2 separate regions of the Homo sapiens genome follow, and region 2 is linked to region 1. Evidence: promoter capture Hi-C in 16 types of primary human blood cells and fetal thymus (Javierre and others, 2016). All regions are on one chromosome and are shown on one strand. Each heading gives the region's core, a stretch centred on a gene start or on the middle of the fragment in contact. The rest is flanking DNA. Distances are from core to core; before and after follow the strand shown. Region 1 holds the start of TET2 (tet methylcytosine dioxygenase 2). Region 2 holds the start of RPL34 (ribosomal protein L34).

Region 1 (3,962 bases), core at 494-2,993:
TGAAATCTGAGTCAACTTTGTTTCAAAATGGAATAAACAAAGTTTGATTGGACCCACTAAACATTCTTCTTAGCAACAATGCGACACTTGCAAGGAGTTCCCTTTTTCACACTCTTCAAAGAGGAAATATTCCGATTTCGTAAAATTAGGGCTTCGCTTTTAAAAAAAATTACAGACCAAAAAAAGTGTGGTTACACAATATAACTAGTATTGACTTAAGGGTACTGTGATCACCATGCAGTGATCCCATAAAAGATGTGACCAAAATACCCACTTAAAATTTGAACGTCAGTCATGTAAGAACATGTAAAAGATGAAGGGAATATTTCAAAAACGACTATCTGACGTAATATGATACTTACTATGACTCATATGGGCTTTGTTCTTCATCTCATCTTCAAATAAAAAGTTGATGATTAGAAAAAGGAGCATTAGAAGGGGGAAGTAACACTACTCGGCAATAGAGAAAAACTCCGGTCAAAGGAAGAGCATAGTTACAGAGCTCCGAATGTCAGGGAAAATCAAGCATCCGTCATTCGGAATTAGCTCTGTATCGGTCGGTTTCTTCATTACTTAATTGTACGGGGGGAAACTACTTCAAAGTAAGGGCTCTTACGAGAGGCAACTTAAGCATTTGAAAGTGCAGGTTTATTTCCTCCTAGCGAGAAGTAGGGGGTCACTAGTGAGAAACCTATTTCAATCTGTGAGACGCCCCCTTCTACTCAGCCCACGTGGCTAAAGTAAACAGAAGGTGGGCCGGGGCGGGGAGAAACAGAACTCGGTCAATTTCCCAGTTTGTCGGGTCTTTAAAAATACAGGCCCCTAAAGCACTAAGGGCATGCCCTCGGTGAAACAGGGGAGCGCTTCTGCTGAATGAGATTAAAGCGACAGAAAAGGGAAAGGAGAGCGCGGGCAACGGGATCTAAAGGGAGATAGAGACGCGGGCCTCTGAGGGTAAGGTGGGCGCAAGCGGAGGTGTGGTGCGGGGAGAGGTGCCAGTGGGTGGAGGCGGGGGCCAGAGCGAGGGCACGTGCGGGTACACTCCGGAGGAGGTGGGTGCGCGCGGGGGCGTGTGCGCGGGACCTCGAAGTGGTGGTGGAGTGCAGACCAGCAAAAAGTTTCAAAGGGAAATCTTAGATGTCACGTCTTTGTCCAGGCACCCGTGCCATCCCAACCTCCCACCTCGCCCCCAACCTTCGCGCTTGCTCTGCTTCTTCTCCCAGGGGTGGAGACCCGCCGAGGTCCCCGGGGTTCCCGAGGGCTGCACCCTTCCCCGCGCTCGCCAGCCCTGGCCCCTACTCCGCGCTGGTCCGGGCGCACCACTCCCCCCGCGCCACTGCACGGCGTGAGGGCAGCCCAGGTCTCCACTGCGCGCCCCGCTGTACGGCCCCAGGTGCCGCCGGCCTTTGTGCTGGACGCCCGGTGCGGGGGGCTAATTCCCTGGGAGCCGGGGCTGAGGGCCCCAGGGCGGCGGCGCAGGCCGGGGCGGAGCGGGAGGAGGCCGGGGCGGAGCAGGAGGAGGCCCGGGCGGAGGAGGAGAGCCGGCGGTAGCGGCAGTGGCAGCGGCGAGAGCTTGGGCGGCCGCCGCCGCCTCCTCGCGAGCGCCGCGCGCCCGGGTCCCGCTCGCATGCAAGTCACGTCCGCCCCCTCGGCGCGGCCGCCCCGAGACGCCGGCCCCGCTGAGTGATGAGAACAGACGTCAAACTGCCTTATGAATATTGATGCGGAGGCTAGGCTGCTTTCGTAGAGAAGCAGAAGGAAGCAAGATGGCTGCCCTTTAGGATTTGTTAGAAAGGAGACCCGACTGCAACTGCTGGATTGCTGCAAGGCTGAGGGACGAGAACGAGGTCAGAGCGCTTCTCTTATGCCGCGAAACTCTCCCTTTCTTCTCCCCTTCGCTTTTTCTCGGGCTTCCAGGGACTGGGGAGCAAACCCTGTAGTGTCACCCACAAATACCAAGAGGGAAGAGGGAAGCTTCACAAATTACTGGAGCCTCTTCAACATGGCTGACAAATATAGTTTTAATTCCCTCTACCCCTTTTAAACCTGTAGTTCTGTGTTCTCTTCTCTCCTCCTAATGCTCGTCCCCTCATCTCCCAGAAAACTTACCTTTGTGCCTCCGACGAGCCGGTTTCCCGGCCTTTTTTAATCCTCAGAAAAGTGATTTTTAAATTTGCTTTCCTTTCTAAAATAGTTCAGCTTTGGGGGCACTACTTTTCCCTTTAATCCTCTTCCCCTGTTTCTTTCGTGTAAGTGAAACGAGTCTCCCGTTTATCCTGAACAACCTCAGAGAGAACACTGATAGGGTGTTTTTCGACCCTTTTATCAGCTGTAGGGTCTGGGTCTGGGTTTGTGTCTGCCTCCTCCTACCTTCTTATCCCCCTTTAGGGGGCTGTACGAAGTGAATGTCACAGGGAGTGGAATTGGAGTACACTGAGTGGGTTTTTTTTTTCCTTAAGTCCGCGCGTTTTGTTAGCGGCGCTGAGTGAAAGAGGAAAGAATAGTTTCTCTGGTTCCCCAAACAAGACCAGAACTCACTTTTCTCAAGGTACATAAGTCAGCGCTGGGCTGAGCCTTCCAGCCTGGGGAATGTATGTAAGAGAATTTATGGACAAATCTGTGTCCCGGCTTTGTGCTTCTCCCGAATCAGCTTCGTTTGGTTCCTTGGTAAGTGACAGGCAGACACAAAGGCAGGCGCAGGCCCGGGGAGGGGGCGGGAGGGGGTGGGGAGCGCAGCGTTGGAGTTGCAAGACTGCAAGGTCAGGGGCGCCTAAAGAAATGAAACCCAATCCCAGCAAAGAAGTGAAGAGCAGATTTATAACAGTCCCATCCAAATTTCTCTTTGGCTTCTCTCTTTGGTCTTTCATCTCTCTGCCTTTCTCTCTGTGTCTCCTCTCTACTCTTTCTTCTCTCTCTCTCATACACATACACACACACACACACACACACACCTCACTCGCATCTTGCTGAATCTTTTCACTGGGACTGCTTGTCTAGTTTTATTAAGCTAATAGGGTTTGTATGGAGAGTTTTCTACCTATGACATAATGAAGTGTGGCCTGGATAGACTCCTGGAAAGGCCGAAAATGAAATATAAGTGTTATTTGCTGGTTATTCCCCTCATGATATACTTTTAATTACATTGAGGGAGTTCTCCCTTCTTCATCTAATGTTTAAGAATTGAGAAAAGGCTTATTTTCCAGCGGTAAAATTTAGTGCATAAAATTTAGTGAAATATTTATATATTTACGTGTCTAGGGAGTGGAATACATTCATGAATTTAATATCTCAAATCACACATTGTGCTTTTTCCCCTTCAGTCAGGGATTATAATGGGAAACCCAAATTCAAAGATATTCATCAACAAATGATCCATCATAGGAATAAGATTGTATCTTAAGGGAAGTTGGGATTCACAGAGAAAAGACATTGGTTTGGTTTGGTGTGATACTGTGGGTATTGTTGCCTGGCTAATGAAATCATTACATTTGCATTTTAATGGAAAGTTGAAATACTAAGGGGAGTTATGTTCTTTTACATGTTTGTATGTGTGCTTAATAATGTTTGGAATAGAATATAAATTTAAACACAATAAATATTGATTTTTTTAAATGTTAATAAGCAGAGAACGGTTAATGAAGTGTTGGATAATCAAACTGAAGTTTAGAAGACAATTTATAGGATTAAAAAATGGATAGAAGGAAAAACACAATAATAGATATTTCTCCATAAGTCGAATTTCCAAAACTATTTGTCCTCGATAGTTCACTTTGTAACTTTCTATTTTGATCTTTGTTAATTTAATGTAGTTTGCTTTAATCATTGATACGTGGGGTTCTTTCACATGATTACAAGGGAGAAGCATTACTCATCTCTGTGGAATAGAAACGGTTCATTGGTTAGTTCTTATTTGCCCTAAAATTAAAACAAAAATTAGGATTTTACCATTAATGCTGTTCATG
Region 2 (3,962 bases), core at 1,463-3,962, 3.5 Mb after region 1:
CAAGCAATCTGTCCACCCTGGCCTCCCAAAGCACTGGGATTACAGGTGTGAGCCACCACGCCCAGCCTGATGATTAATTTCATGTGTCAACTTGACTGGGCTAAGAGATGCCCAGATAGCTGGTAACATTATTTCTGTGGGTCTGTGAAGGTGGCTTCAGAAAAGATTAGCATTGGAATCAGTACACTAAGTAACGAAGATTGCCTTCACAATGTAGGTGAGTATCATCCAATTTGTTGAGGGTCTGAATAGAAAAACATGCGGAGGAGAGTGAATTTTCTCTCTGCTTAAGCTGGGACATTCATGGTCTCTGTTCTTGAATATCAGCACTCCTGGTTCTTGGGACTCTGGACTCAGACTAGGGCTTATACGACCAGCTGTCCTGGTTTTCCAGCTTGCAGATGGCAGATTGCAGGGCCTCTCTGCCTTAATCACATGAGCCAATTCCTATAATAAATAAACAAATAAATGTATACCCTATCAGTTCTGTTTCTCTAGAGAACCCATGCACACCTTAGCTGTTCAAGTTACCCCCCAGTTGAGGCTCCAATCATTACATAGTAAAGGCAAACTATTCTCATTATACCATGTAGAAATTCCTGATCCATAGAATCCATGAGCATACTAAAATGATTATTTTATGCTTAGTGGCATAAAGTACTGAAAGCAAGAAAATCAAGAAAAAACAACTGCCAATAACGAGTTCTATTTTTAGCATAACAAAAGCTGTTGGTGTCTTGCAACACATTCCTTCATTCCACTTCTAATTTTGGCTTCCTTTGTAGTCTACTGATTAGTAATCATAATCACATGTACAAAACCCCTTAAAATTTTTTTTTTAGAGACAGGATCTCTCTATGTTGCTCAGGCTGGCAACTTCAGTGGAAGTGCAGTGGTGCAATCTTGGCTCCCTGCAACCTCCACCTCCCAGGCACAAGTGATTCTCGTGCCTCAGCCTCCTGAGTATCTGGGATTACAGGCACCTGTCACCACGCCCAGATAATTTTTGTATTTTTAGTAGAGACGGGGTTTCGCCATGTTGGCCAGGCTGGTCTTGAACTCCTGGCATCAAGCGATCCACCTGCCTTGGCCTCCCAAAGTGCTGGGATTACAGGGATGAGCCACCACACCCGGCCTAAAGAATCTCATTTGTTTTTTTAATCTGTCTTTGTTCTCTGTTCATTAATTTCTGTGTGCACTTAATAAATATTTTACAAATTTTTGTGAAATTAAAATAAGGTGAACCTATCATACTTTTTTTGGCTTGGACTGGGAAACTTTGAGGTTTAACATTTTTTTATTTAAGGGTTTTTTGATAAAAGCTATTAATTGTAATGTGGTCAGATTTATTGGTCTTTTCTGAGTTTGTGCTTTTTGTGCCTTGTTTAAAAAATCCTCTTCTACTCCAACGTCTATAAGATAGTCACCTATATTTCCTAATAAATTAAAGCCTTATTATTGACTCATTTAAGGTTTTTTTTTTCAGTGTAGAGTGACTTAAGGATACAATTTTTTCTTTCCATATGTATAACCATTTTTCCCAACTTCATTTACTGAATAGTCACCAATCTTTCCCCACCAATCTGATATATTACCTTTGTCATATACCAAAGTTTCATACATTTATTATTATTATTATTATTATTGAGATAGGATCTCATTCTGTTGCCCAGGCTGGAGTATGGTGGCACAATCATGGTTCACTGCAGCCTCAAACTTCTAGGCTCAAGTGATCCTCCAGCCTCAGCCTCCTGAGTAGGTGGGACTAAAGGTGTGTGCTACAACACCTGGCTAATTAAAAAAAAAAAATTTGTAGAGATGGGCGTCTCGCTATGTTGCCCAGGCTGATCTTTAACTACAGGTCTCAGTGATCTTTCTGTATCAGCCTCCCGAAGTGCTAGGATTAACAGGCATGGGCCACTGTACCTGGCTGTCTTTGAAGTTTTTAATAAGATTGCCATATCTCTCTCAAGACTGATCAAGAAAAAATGCAAATACAAATTTAAAGAGAGGGAAAAATAGTATTATGGAACTGGGTTAAGTACCTTAAGGGAAAACTACAACAATGAGACCACTATTCTTATCTACTTGGGTGGGGGAAGGCACGGACAGAGACGTAAACAACAGCATAGTGTGCCAAGGGCTCCCATCTCCTGTTCTCTTCTGCTCTGCAAAGTCTCTCTTAAAATATAGAGAACATATTGCAAGTAAATACATTCATTAGTGCATTTATTCAAAAACCACATTTGTCTCTCTATGCAAGCTTCCATCTCAATGCCTGGCACAGAGACGAAAAGGATTTCAGAGGACAAAAATCAAAGGACTGGAAAGGAGGGAAGTAGCTGATGACAAGGTCGGGGGAGAAGCAGCTATTTGAGAGTGAGCAGAGGGAAGGATATAACCAGAGCCTTCCATCTGGTGTTGTGACAAAGATGGCAGTGATGTGAGGCTTGATAGAATCAATAGGCCTCACAGTTCAAGACAGACTACATGCCCTCAGTCACTTGCCTGCTTTCTTGGTTTGCTAGATGGATTAGAAATACTAGAAGGAAAGTTGAGTGGGTACTGGGATATCCTATCCAAATCCTCTCTTCTGGGGCAATGCAGCTGCCTCACAGCAACCACGTTGTGGATCACCTGACCCCGCCTTTCTCAGCTTCCTGGAGGTGCATTCTAAGAGCGCTCCCCATAAGCCAACACTCAAGTCTCTTCGAGGTGTGTTTCCAGGGAGCCTGATCTAAGATTAAAAACTTAAAGGCCCCTTTTAGAATTGTCTTTTACAGCCCAGGCAAAGAGTTCTTTACTTTTTTAGAGGTCATGAATCCCTTTGACAAGGTGATGAAAGCCAGGGACCCTCTTCTCAGAAAAATACACACGTGCGCTTAATGTAAAATTTTACATACTGTTTTAAAGGTTAAACTTTACCACCCATGAAAAGCCTCAAGTAGTTCTTTGTACATAATCATAAGATTAGCAACCATTTACTGAGCACTTCCTCTCTATAAGACCCTGTGCTAAGTGCTTTAACTTCATAATGCCTTTGATCATGACATAACATGGCACGGTAGTTCCTAATATCTTCCTTTTAGAGATTTAAGGGCTTGCTCAAAGTAACATAGCTAATAATTAGCAGACACTGGATTAAAATCCCAATTTGTTTGTAAAGCTTGTGCTCTGAATAAATGACAAGGAAAGAGAAGGGAAGGTTGAAGAAGGGAAGGTTCTTGAAGGTCCCTGGTCCTTGAAGGTCCCTTAACCATAAATGTCAAGAGTTGGGATTTAAACCCAGGTCTAACGCCAGAGCTGGCGCCCTTTAGATTAAAAGTGCAGTGTCCATGACAACGAAAGAAGTTGATTTTGTCCCACCTTTGCTCTTTGCGGCTTTTCATTTGCGTTTGTTTCCACAGCGATTTCCAATAGATTTCTGCGTGGCCTTGACACAGACAGCTAGTGTGAATCCCCGCCCACAGAGGGGCGGCACGTTGGTTGCCGTACAACGTGGTGGTTCCCTGCATCTCTGCCCACGTCGGAGAGGTGCGTCGGCTTCCGTACAACACGGATACTCTCTCTCTGACGCAACTTCCTGTCCTGCGCAATTCTATTTGACCTTTGAACTGGCAAAGGCTTTTTTCTTCCTCTTCCGGGGACGTTGTCTGCAGGTATGGATGTTGTTCTCTTTTCCCTGTCTTTATTTCCTTACCAATCGGCTGCCATCCGAGGAGCTGAGGAAGCCTAGAGCTCTCAGAAGCAGTCCTTTGAGCTGGTGTAGGGGTAAGGGGCACAACAGGGAGGTTGGTGGTGAGGAAGTTCCTTACTTTGATCTTTGGAAATCCCTTGTTCCTGGTGGCACCTCCAAAGCCGTGAGTAGCCACAGCTCACCACCCGGGACTTTGCTGCATTCCAAGTGTAGCGTTTGGAGACTAACGAGTTGTGGTTTGGCGGTTTGAGTCTGGAAAATCGCC

The links. Contacts are between HindIII fragments. The CHiCAGO score rates a contact against its expected background, and 5 or more counts as called.
Region 2: a contact is called between a fragment that was not itself captured here and the fragment with the promoter of TET2 in region 1, in 1 of 17 cell types (total B cells). The highest score is 5.7, in total B cells.

What each region holds. Positions count from the first base shown.
Region 1 is chr4:105,145,133-105,149,094 of GRCh38, forward strand. TET2 (tet methylcytosine dioxygenase 2) reads left to right here and starts at 1,744. Exons shown (of 11, transcript NM_001127208.3): 1 at 1,744-1,847. It overlaps LOC124900868, which reads right to left. Exons shown (of 3, transcript XM_047416559.1): 2 at 363-1,829. The coding sequence ends at 1,141. RefSeq lists silencers at 1,006-1,685, 2,649-2,718 and enhancers at 1,756-1,925, 2,269-2,318. The HindIII fragment of the contact is 4,110 bases long and covers 1-1,972 here.
Region 2 is chr4:108,616,942-108,620,903 of GRCh38, forward strand. RPL34 (ribosomal protein L34) reads left to right here and starts at 3,635. Exons shown (of 5, transcript NM_001319236.2): 1 at 3,635-3,659. It overlaps RPL34-DT (RPL34 divergent transcript), which reads right to left and starts at 3,516. Exons shown (of 4, transcript NR_026968.1): 1 at 3,367-3,516. RefSeq lists enhancers at 3,173-3,962, 3,598-3,647. The HindIII fragment of the contact is 903 bases long and covers 2,262-3,164 here.